Regions from separate parts of the Homo sapiens genome. Here region 1 is linked to region 2. Evidence: promoter capture Hi-C in 16 types of primary human blood cells and fetal thymus (Javierre and others, 2016). All regions are on one chromosome and are shown on one strand. The core of a region is centred on a gene start or on the middle of the fragment in contact, and the rest is flanking DNA. Distances in the headings are between cores, read along the strand shown.

Region 1 (5,966 bases), core at 730-3,229, 690 kb after region 2:
TGCTTTTGGCTGCAATTATTTCAATTCATGTGGTCACACTCTCTCAAGCTGACCTGACATTTCAAGCTGCAGCTTGATATATCTTTGCTCAACAAAAGATGGGAAACAAATTAGTTTTTACTTAATGACTTCAATGTTTTGGGGAGAAAAAATCTTTGAGTTTGTGTGCAGAGGTTCAGTAACTGGCCAGAAGACATACAGCTTGTAAGCGATGGTGTCTGACTTAGAACCCAGATCTGACTGACCCCCAAGTCAGGACTCTCTCTATTATGGAGGCAGTTCAAGGACACACACACATTTTGTCATCCTCTTCATATTACTTGTCCCTAAACCTCTCCTTTTATAATGCAAAGTACTTCTGCTAAACCCCATGTTCCTCCCCACCTTCCCATCCCTATTCTATCTTTGGTTTTAAAAACTTTCATTCATCTTTATTGAATTCCTTTTTTCAGGTGCTGCCAAATTTACCAGCTGGCCAAGATTTTTCCCCATTCTATATTGTCATGCATGCAAATCATTTTGCTAGTGCTCCCCACAAATAGGACGACTCTGCGTCCTTTAGTCAGGTACTGAGCTCCATAGTCCCCTCTGGAAATCAGGTAACTAGCAACCTGTCAATCAATTTGGATGCATCTCACAGACAAGGTACTCAAGATGGAACTCCTAATTCCTCCCCAAGTCTTCCCACCTGCAGCATGGTACCACCATCAATTCAGCTGGGGGAGGGAGGAATCTAATCCTCTGTATTCCTCGTCCCCCACATCTTATCTATCAGTAAGTTCTTTCCACTCAACCTCCAATAGAAGTGCTAAATCCACCACTTCTTGCCTTCACCACTGTCACCAGCAGTTCTAAATCACTATCGTCTCTCACCTGGACCCCTGCAAGTGTCCTAATTAGTCTTCCTGCAACTATTCATGCCCCTTCCAGCACCTGTTCCACAAGGCAGCCAGAGTAATCAGCCATTGGAAACAGCATCAGATCACACCACTCCCCTGCTTAAAACCCTTTTCTATCAGAATGCAAGTTCTGTAAGATTTGGAACCCAACTCTCATCTTCACCTCGTATCCCTAGTACCTACAGTACAACGGTGCCAGCACAAAGTAGGTACTCAGTAAATATTGCTTGCATGAATGAATCAAGTGATAACCTTAATTGCAAACATCCAAAATCTTCTATTATTTATAGAAAAGTGGCTCTATCTCTTTTCATTTTTATTCCAACATTGTAGTGGTTGTTCTCTAATTTCTGTGGAGATGTCAACATATGTAGACTCTAGGCAATTTATTTTTCCCCTTCCCTCCAGAAGTAAAGTAAAAGGAATATGTGACTCACACACACAGATGCATCTCACGCCAGTTGTGTTGCTTGAGAATAGATGGGAGATTATGCTGATTGAACTGGACAGTTTCCATTTTTATTATTTTAATTATAAACACAAACTATTGGGGGTAAAATCTTATGGAAATCTGCCTATCAATTTCACAATTAACATCTCATTTCAAGAGACCAATCAACTCAAATGAGGGCCAGTGACCTTAATCTTTCCCCAAATACAGTGTTTGATTCCTCTTATTAGTTGAAAATCTCCGAACTATGAAACATGTGGGTTAGACCGATGTTTGCTTCAACGATGCTATCAGCCACATTTCAGTAAGTCAAGGAATTTTTGTGACCTTTGCGTTACAGTTTGTATGGACAAAAGAAGGAAGGCTAAAGCTGTGCAAATCAAGTAGGAGAAATAACAAGGCCACTTAAGTAGGGTCTCTTTTTTTCATTTATTTTTCTAAGACTGTGGAAGGAAGTGTGATTTTAAGGCAACTTATTTTGCCACTGATTAGCTAAAATTAACCCAAGAAGAGAGTAAAGCCCAGAAGTGAAAGGCAGCTAATTTTAATCCTAAAGGTCTGTAAAAAATCCTATCAGAAAAATAAAATTCTCTTTGTGATATAGGAGAAAAAAAAACTTGGCTTTTAAAAAGAAATGCAACAGAAAAAGACAAATTTGACCTGGCAAACAATGCGTCTACTTAACATCAATACTCCTGCAAAGATTAGAACAAGACCATACACTCTGCAGGGTTAATCACTACTCCCAAAACACCAGAGGTTCCACCTAAGTAAACGCGGGACATGTACACACAGGTACCAACCAATCATTAGAACTAGACAGACCAATTACTAATAGCCTGTTAACAACCAGTTGGGCAATTTCACTTTGGAGTAGACTTGGGGCACACAAGATGCCAAAACTACCCCTGAAACATTTCAAGGTCAGCCAAGAAGCTGCCAGTCTTGTCTCTCTGACTGCATTGATTGATGTGCCTTGAGCAGCTCCATCCAAGCCTTTGCGGGGGTGAAGGATTTTTCTTCAACCTGCTCACATGGATGATTGGCTGTTTGGGATCTGTATGGCTAGAATTCTTAAGCTGCAAGAAATAGAAACCAACGTAAGCTAAGCTGAGGCAGCAAAGGGGAATTCATTAAAAGGATATAAGACTGTTTCTTGGAACTCAAGGGCACAAATGGCACCAGACCTCAAGAAAGAACTTGCTGCAGGTCTCTTTTCTGTTCCTTTCATCCATTTGCTTCTCAGTTCACAACAGAAAGAAATGGCCACCCCCTACTCCCAAGTCCCCATCTATTCTTTTCTACAGACCATCCCAGCCAGTCCTAGAATTTTTGAGTCTCAAATTTTGAGGAGAAAGAAACTGAATTGTCAAATTTGGATCAGGTATACCATACTATACCTTCAACCATGACCAAGTGGACTGTAACACAATGCAGACATGACTATAAGGGTTGGTGCACAAGGATGAGGAGGGAAATTCAGGAAGATTACCATGAGGTAGGCAGAATCTTCCAGAAAGTATCTAATAAAGGACTACATTATCACAACCAGAGCCAACTGAACTAGCCTAACACACAGAGCCGGGGTCAAGCCAAATGATTCCCATTGTACCTTTGGTCAGACCTTCTCCATAGGGCAAGAGGCCAGTACCCAGTAGAAACGAATAACCTGCAGCTGCTTCACAATGCTCTGGGAGAGGAGCCACAGCTATACTCTCTGAGAGCACCCTGTATTCTTCTTCATCCTGCTTATGACAGTTTGTAATCCTACATTTATTTTAAACTTGTTTAATGAGCATCTCTCTCCATCACTCAGTTTGAAGCTCTACAAACAAGGTCAGGTACCATATTGGTTTTACTTCCTGTCCTAGTCCATTTTTGCATTGCTATAAAGAAATATCTGGGACTGGGTAATTTATAAAGAAAAGAGGTTTAATTGGCTCATAGTTCTGCAGGCTGTACAGGAAGCATGATGCTGGCATCTTCTCGGCTTCTGGGGAGGCCTCAGGAAACTTATGATCATTGCATAAGGTGAAGGGAGAGGAGGCACGTAGGCACATTACATGGTGAAAGAAGGAATAAGAAAGAGAGCAGGGAGGTGCTACACATTTTTAAATGACCAGATCTCACAAGAACTTACTATCACAAGGACAGTACCAAGGGGAATGGTGCCAAACCATTCATGAAAAACTACCCCCATGATCCAATCACCTCCCACCAGGCCCCAACTCCAATACTGGGGATTACAGTTCAATATGAGTTTTGGGCAGGGACATAGATTCAAACCATATCACTTCCCTTCATCTTCCTGGCACCATGCCTGACACATACTGAATACTCATCAAAGAGTGAATAAAATGAATGGAGTGGAGGAGTCCAAGGAAGTTTTGCCAGATGATTTGGTACATGAGTTGAGTCTCAAAGGACAAACAGAGTCTTTTAGGAGAACAAGCTGGGAGAGCATCCCTGGCAGAGGGAATGACAGAGGGCCCAAAGGCACATAGTGCAAATACCACAGAAATGGTGAGGCAGCTTGCGGCAAGAGAGCTGGCCAGGAAGTAGAGGTGGAGGTCACCTCATCTTGCATAGAGACTGGAGGGCTCAGAGCTAGGAATGACGTGTCTAGATTGTAGACTAATCCATCTGATGGGAATGTGGGAGCTGGACTGGAGGCAGGAAGATGAGCTCGAAAGCTTATGTAATCATCCAAGAGAAAAAAGCAATGGTAGTGAGGATGGGGAGGAAAAGATTTTAAAAGTTAGTAAGGAAGTAGGATCAGCAGAAATTCAGGGAATACAATTTTGTCATTTGATGACCTAGTTATTTATGTACGTCTTATCGCCCATGCAAGACTGTGAGCTTCTGACTCAGTCTTCCTCATTCCTGTGATACCACGGCTGTTATGCAGTGCCCACCCAACACACAGCAAGTTTGTTGAGAAAATAAACTAATGAATGATTGAATCACTACCACCAACCAAAGTGGGGACAGCTGCCAGGATGGGGGGCCACACAGTGTCCTTTGAGGGTTTCATAGAAGTTTGCTGCTTGTATGTTTATCTTGCCTCCATAAAATGCTTAGAGGTGCTAAACTTCTTTTACAGTCCCCTCAACCCCCAACACAGGCCTGGACTCAGGGTAAAATGTCAGCCATACATCCCTGTTTAATGAGCTAGACTGGAGCAGACTGAAATGGAAATAGAAGGGGTCTCCTATTCTTTAGAAAGAACCTAATATGTAGACCCAAAGTGAGAGGAGAGACTGGTAGACCTTCCCCATTGTAGGTGTGGCAGGGATCCTCTGCCAGGGCTTCTGTGAAGATAACCTAACCTAACTGAGCTGCCCCTCATAGGCAAGCACTAGCAGAAGAGAGGATAAATCCCCTTCAATGGACCAAAAACACTGGAACCCCTTGGCAAAGACCAGAGTCCAAAAGCTTCAAAGAGCTGAGACTGAGCCTGAACAAATACCAGAAGCTTCTGACCTTAGGAAATGATGCAAGTGAATTAAGGGTGTTCCTAGCTCTGTTCTCAGTAACATGGTGAATGAATGAACAAGCGCATGAACAAACTAATAAGCAAATGTTTTCTACCTATTTATGATTTTTTTAAAAAAAGAGCTGACTGGAAATACATAATTTTTAATAAATAGAGATATTACGTTTTACCTAGGGGCCTCTATTATTATCTTGAAAACAGAGTTTGATTCAAACATTTGTTTCATTTCAAGAAAAGGTTCTATACAGAAATCATAAAGTAACCGGAGTGTGTTGTATAGCCTGATGGTCTCCCACACAGGGCAAGCCTGGCCTTTCAACTCTCACAGCAAACAACAATTTCACCTGCACATTCACCAGTGGCAGCTACCCAACGGGAGGCAAAAAAACCATGGGGGCGTAATTAGCCCACGATGATTTCAAGTATTTTGGTTGGCCTTAAAATTGTCGCTGTCCTATCAGTCAACATTTCCCCATAATTACCTCGATGGAAATTTTCTGTACACACAAACCAGTTTTACTGAATCACGCATTACGAAGAAGAAGGAAAAAAGGTGAATGCTGAATTTTGTAAAAAACAAAACTACACTGCAGGCCGGGCGCAGTGGCTCATGCCTGTAATCCCAGCACTTTGGGAGGCCGAGGTGGGCGGATCACGAGGTCTGGAGATCGAGACCATCCTGGCTAACACGGTGAAACCCCGTCTCTACTAAAAATACAAAAACAAAAAAATAGCCGGGCGTGGTGGCAGGCACCTGTAGTCCCAGCTACTCGGGACGCTGAGGTGGGAAAATGGCGTGAACCTGGGAGGCAGAGCTTGCAGTGAGCCGAGATTGCACCACTGCACTCCAGCCTGGGTGACAGAGCGCAAGACTCCGTCTCAAAAAAAAAAAAAAAAAAAAAACTACACTGCAAAAAAACCTGTACCAAAACCTATCTTGGTAGGTTTTCTTATATCTTTTTGGTTATGCATGTTTAACTTATAAATATTTTCTCATGTTACTAAAAACCTCTGCCCAAACACACTTTTAGCAGTTGCATAATATTCCTTCAAGTAGCTGAGCTGTGGCTTACTTAACCATTAGCCTCATTTTGGGCAATCAGACCTGTCTCCATATTGT
Region 2 (5,732 bases), core at 3,083-5,582:
GAGGGGCTGGGCCTCTAGAAGCCGAGGCAGCCTTTGTACTTGCAGAGACAATTCCCCCCAAGAGTGAGGGCCGAGCGCAGAAAGTCGCCAGGAACTCTCAGCATGGCACAGTCATCCCGAGGCCCTAGCCCCGCCGGGGAGCACCAACTTGGGGCCCTGGGGACACCTCTCTGGACATCCCTGACACCGTCAGCTAGAGCCCAGGCCTCTCACAGGCCTGGACTTGGGCCGCTTCCCTGGCAGGAGGGGCCCCACACGCCCCCTCACTAGGGTCAGCTTTCTCCCCAGCTAAGAGATTGTGCCTTCAAGCTTTGGCTTCACAAAGAGTGAGAGAAACCGCATGTGGCTTCTCCTGAGAGGGGAAAAGAACTGCGTCTACGGAGGAAGCAGGAAGAGCTCTTTTATCAGTATTTTTAAGAAGGGTTGTTTTAAAGGAGAAAATAAGGTCTTGACTGGAACCCAGGTAGTCTGGAGCTCTGCGTCGGGAACCAGATCTGCCCCCAGATACCCTGACTCACTCCAGAAGACAGCATCTGAGGTCTGTGCTCTCCTTCCTATCACTCCCTGCAGTGGTGGCGGTGATGAGGGTCTTGGGTACCCAACCTTGGAAAGAAGATATCAGGTCTTTCTGATGGCACAGTTACCCGTGCCTCCACTTCTCCCCAACAGAAGCTGGGGCAGCGGTTTGTTTGCAGAGACATAAGACCGGCTTTGCCCAAGCAAATTGGCAGGGCTCCCTCCCTAGGCTGACCCAGCTCACGTAGGACCATGAAAGCCACGTCTGTCTAAGCTGTTAGAACTCCCAGTGCATCCAGGGGGGCTTGGGCACCATTTGAGTTTGGGTGGAGAGCCTGCTGGAGTAGGATGGTGGGGCCTCACCAGGCTTCCAGGTGCCCTAGGACTGGGAATGGTAAAGTTGGCTCAGACCTCTCATATAGAGTGCAAGGTGAAATGAAAGTTGGGGGTTGAGGTGTCAGGTGGGGGATTATAGATTCTAGGCTGGTGACCCAGGCCGAGGTGGGCTTCTTTCTTGGTGGAGAAGAGCAGTCGAGTTGTGCATGAACAATGGCTGATCCGAATTCCATGTGGTGTCTTTGGCTCACTGTCCCGGGCCCTGGTTTGGTCTAGGAGAGTCTGTCTACGACAGGGGGACACGAGGCAGCTTCATCTTCCCTAAACTGATGCATCTGAGGCAGGGGCCCAACTGTTGCCCATGTCCTGATATCCACCTGGAAGGTCTGCAGGGTCATCTTCCTCCAAGATCTCTCCTGGTGAGATCAGAACTTCAGGGAGGTGAAGCAGGGGATCCCATCGCTTCACCCCAAAAACCCACCCAGCCCTAGCAGTAAAAAGGACAGGACACAGCCCTGGGGTACATGTTTATGTGAGTAATAAAATATTTACTATAACATAAATATAAAGGGAACTTCCCAGTCTACATTATTTTTTTTTCAATAAAGATACAAAGAGAATGCACCGAAACATTGTTTCAAAAAATAATAAAAATAAAATAACAAAATTTAAATTCAAACCTTAACAAACAGAAGAAGAAACGGAGAAGGGGGAAGCTCCAAACACATCCAGAAAATAAATAGAGATGGGTCAGAAATTCGGAAATCATATTAAAATATCTTTTTCGGATTAGTCAGTGTACAAAATCCTTTAGGGTAGGAAGGAAGGGTAACCCGGAAAACCAAAAATAAAAACCAAGCACAAAATGTTTCTTCTCCCCGCCAGTGTGTACATATCTCACATATTTACATGGTTCCCACCTCACCCCAAACTTGGGGAATTTCTCTCCCGGCCTCCCCTGGCATCCCGCATCCCGGCGGGCTGGAAAGGGAGCAGAGGGAAGCTGCAGGGAATCAGGCGGAGGGTTCTCAGGGAACGGCTTATTTCTACAGCTGGTTAAAAAACAATCTCTCTAACTTTTCCAAGTTTCGTTTGGTGTGGCCAGGAGGGCAGGGCCCCGCGGGGAGCAGGGGCCGCGCTATGCGGCGGTCGGTCTGCAGCAGGGCAGAAGCCCCTTCCCGTCTGGGTGTGTGGGAGCGCAGACCCCTCCGGCGTGGCCGGGAACCAAGCCGGGGCTCGGATGAAACGAAACGAAAAATGAACACTCGAATTTTTTTTGTTAGTTTTTTTTTTTTTTTTTTGCTTTTTTTTGGGGGGAGGGTAGGGTAGGGAAATATAAGGGGAAAAATAAATTAGGCTAGATTAAAGCTTTGGCTATTTCCTGCTTTTATACACAGACGCGGCTCTCGCGACCTCCCCTCCGGGGCCCCGATAAATACAGTATACTGCGATTTAAATTAAGGGCGCGGGCGGAGTTAGAAGGACCCCAGGAGCCGAGAGGCTCCACGAATAAATAAAAACCGTAAAAAACCAAGCCCGGAGAAAGGGGAAAGCGGGGTGGGGCGCATCCTTATAGGAGAGAAGAGGCGTGTAGCGAATAAAGTGACAGCCCCCCACCCTGGACCCGCAGGCTCAGGAGTCCACGCGGGGAGAGGGGATGGAGAACTCTCCTCGCTTCGTCCTCTCTCCCGGGGAATCCCTAACCCCGCACTGCGTTACCTGTCGCTTTGGGGAGGCCGCTGCCGGGATCCGGCCCCGAACAGCCCGGGGGGGCAGGGGCGGGGGTCGTCGAGGGGATGGGGGCAGAGAGCAGGCGGCGGGCAGGATGCCCGGGGTGAGTTGGCGAGTTCCGGATCTTCGCTCCTCTCTCCCGGGGCTCGGGCGACGCAGCCTACCGGGCTGTCTTCGCCGCTCACCGGAGAGGGTCGTCCGGGTGTTTGGTTTTGTTCGAAAGTTTCTGGGCTTTTTTTTTTTTTTGTAAAATCCAAAGCAACCGAACAAAAAGAGTCCAGGCCGCGCGGGCGGGCTGCGCGCCCGCGCCCTGCAGCGCGCCGGCGGGGGCCCGGCCCGCGGGGTCACTGCACTGAGCCGGGCAGTGTGTGGTGGTGGTGGTGGTGCAGCGCCGCCGGCGGGGGCGGTGGGGGCGCGGAGGGTGGCGATGCGCCGCCCCCGCCAGGCCCTAGCTCCCCAGGCGCGTATACATCGTCCATGGGCGGGTGGCCCGCGCCGGCCGCAGGGGTCATGCGCTTCTCCTTCTGCCGCCGGTTGCAGAACCAGACGCGCACCACCTCCTTCTCCAGCTGCAGGCTGTCTGCCAAGCCGGTGATCTCGTGCGCCGAGGGCTTGGGGCACTTGAGAAAGTGGCTCTCGAGCGCGCCTTTGACCCCCACCTCGATGGACGTGCGCTTCTTGCGCTTGCGGCCCTGCGCCGCGATCTTGTCCAGGTTGGTGGGGCTGCCGCTGGACGAGTCGGTCTCCTCCAGCCACTTGTTGAGCAGCGGCTTGAGCTTGCACATGTTCTTGAAGCTCAGCTGCAGGGCCTCGAAGCGGCAGATGGTGGTCTGCGAGAACACGTTACCGTAGAGCGTGCCCAGCGCCAGCCCCACGTCGGCCTGCGTAAAGCCCAGCTTGATGCGCCGCTGCTTGAACTGCTTGGCGAACTGCTCCAGGTCGTCCGAGCTGGGCGCATCCTCGTCCGAGTGCTCGCCCACCGATGAGCCGCCGCCGCCCGCGCCCGGGTGCAGGTGCGCCGCCGCCGCGTGCAGGCCGCCCGCGTGTGCATGTCCGTGTGCGTGTCCGTGGGCGCCCAGATGCGGCGGCGGCGACGGCTCCAGCTGCGCCTCGTGGCCATCCTCGTGCAGCGCGTGGTGCAGGCCCGGCCCCGCGCCGCCACCGCCCGCCGCCAGCATCCCGGCCAGGCCGCCGCCGCCGCCCCCCGGGTAGGCCGCCTGCGCGTACAGCCCGAGCGGCTGGGGCTGGTGGCCCCCGCTGGCCCCGGGCGAGGGCGACATGGCCGGGCCCAAGTGGTGCGCTGTGCTGCCCTGCGCCCATGCCGCGCCCGCGTGGGCCGCCCCCTGGTGCACCAGGCGCGCGTGGAAACCTCCGCCGCCGCCGCCGTCGTCGGCTCGGCCGGTGCCGCCGCCGCCTGCCTTGCCGTGTTCTAGGTGCGGGCCGCCGGCCCAATCGCCGCCGCCGCCTCCTCCCGTGGGTAGCCACTGGGGGTGCGCTAGGCCCACGGGGTGGCCCGCGCCCGCGCCCAGCCACTCGTGGTGCATCAGCTTCTGCACTTCGCGGTACGCGGCCCCTGCATGCAATCGCTCCGCGGCCGCCGCCGCCGCCGCCGCCGCCGCGGCGTCCGGGTGCATAAGCGGCCCGGTGCCCCCGGCTCCGCCACCGGGGCCCCGCGGCAGGTACTGCGCGGTGGTGGCCATGCCGCCCCGCGCCCTGCGCCGCGCCGCCGCCGCCGCTCCGCTCCGTCTGCGGGCCCCGCCGCCTCGCTCCGCCGGCTTAAAGCCCCGACCCGCTCGGCGCTCCGGAGCCCCACCCCGCCCGCCGCCCATTGGCTGCCCGCGGAGCTGCCTCCCGCCTCCCCTGCCCGGCCCCCGCCCCGCGCGCCCGCCCGCCACCCTGCCCGGCCGCCCAGAGCTCTCCATTGGGCGTCGCTCCCGGGGTCCCGCGCGCCGGCCGTGCTGATTGGCCGCTGGGGCTTCATTCACGGCCCCCCTACCGTCCGCGTACACACTCACGCCCCGGGGGCGCGGCCGCCACGTGGGGAGTGGCGCGGGGGTGGCCCTGGGACCGCACCCCCTCTCGTCCTGGCTGTGTGGGCCCCGCTTTCCCCCAGCGCTGGAGACTCCGAGCCCGGCCGGTCCCACATTCCACGCGAGCTGAATTCCCGCCCGCATCCCGCCCGGGCAGCAGGGATTGCCGGCTCCGGGAGGCGCTCGGGCTCCGAGAAGCGGCTCAGCCCCGCGCCCCTCCCTCCTCAGTACCGCTGCCGGCGGACCAGGATTCCCGCGGGTCCTGGCGGCTGCGAGCGCGAGGCGGCGCGGATTCGCGGCTCGGTTCCGGCGCGACTGCTCACCGCGCCCGCCTCGCCTCCCGCGGCTGCCAGCGTGCACTGGGCGCTCCTCGGCGCGTCTGCCCGGCCCGTCTCGGCTTTCCTTCTCCTTCCTCTAGTCCCAGCGTCACAACTCCGCCGACCTCCTCTGCCCTGAGAGCGCGTCCGGTGCGGGCGGAGTCGGACGGACTCTGGCTTCACGCCTCGCGCGGGCACACCTTCTCCCGGGCACTGAGGCCCAGGTGAGTACCGCGCGGGCAGCTGGGGCTGGGACGGCGGGCGGCAGCGGTTCTACAGTCCTACGCGAGCCCCTGGTACCCGGCCGCGCTCCGGGGTTCCAGAAGGAGAAGATCTCGAGGTGGAGACTGTGGCTCCGGGGAAAACGCTGCTGGCAAGGGCGCTAGTTGGGGGTGGACGTTGGGCCCAGGGGTATCTGACCTGCGCCGCTGCAGCCTTCTCGCTCCTTCTCCCAGCTTGAACGGCTCATCGGCTGTGGTCGTGGTGGGATCACGCCCCGGGAGAGGAGAAGGATGGGCTCAGGGAAGGGGCTCGGGCTCTCCAGAAATCCGGCGTGCAGGCCGGGAGCTGTCCAGCCTCGCTAAGAGCCCTGGGCTAGAGTTTGCCCGGACTTGCCTGGAGCTGCTGAAAAGGGAATTGAGATTGAGGAGGCCTTGTTGGAAAGGTGGGCAGTGGAATTTAGCTACCTCCTCACGCCCCAGCCCTTGAGGACTCCCTGAAGGATCTTGAGTGGAGTCGGACCTCACTGCAGTTCCTTTGTGCCTTCTTACCCGACCTTGGGCCCCAGGCTGAGGGTACTGAG

What was found. Contacts are between HindIII fragments. The CHiCAGO score rates a contact against its expected background, and 5 or more counts as called.
Region 1: a contact is called between a fragment that was not itself captured here and the fragment with the promoter of POU3F1 in region 2, in 1 of 17 cell types (endothelial precursors). The highest score is 5.6, in endothelial precursors.

Annotation. Positions count from the first base shown.
Region 1 is chr1:38,731,809-38,737,774 of GRCh38, forward strand. No RefSeq gene overlaps it. Among named protein-coding and RNA genes, the nearest start is that of RRAGC, 120 kb to the right of the region's middle. The HindIII fragment of the contact is 4,123 bases long and covers 1-4,041 here.
Region 2 is chr1:38,042,461-38,048,192 of GRCh38, forward strand. POU3F1 (POU class 3 homeobox 1) reads right to left here and starts at 4,333. Exons shown (of 1, transcript NM_002699.4): 1 at 1,369-4,333. The coding sequence starts at 4,283. The coding sequence ends at 2,928. MIR3659HG (MIR3659 host gene) reads left to right here and starts at 4,674. Exons shown (of 5, transcript NR_168386.1): 1 at 4,674-5,154. RefSeq lists a silencer at 4,394-4,723 and enhancers at 4,636-5,136, 5,137-5,637. The HindIII fragment of the contact is 4,132 bases long and covers 2,219-5,732 here.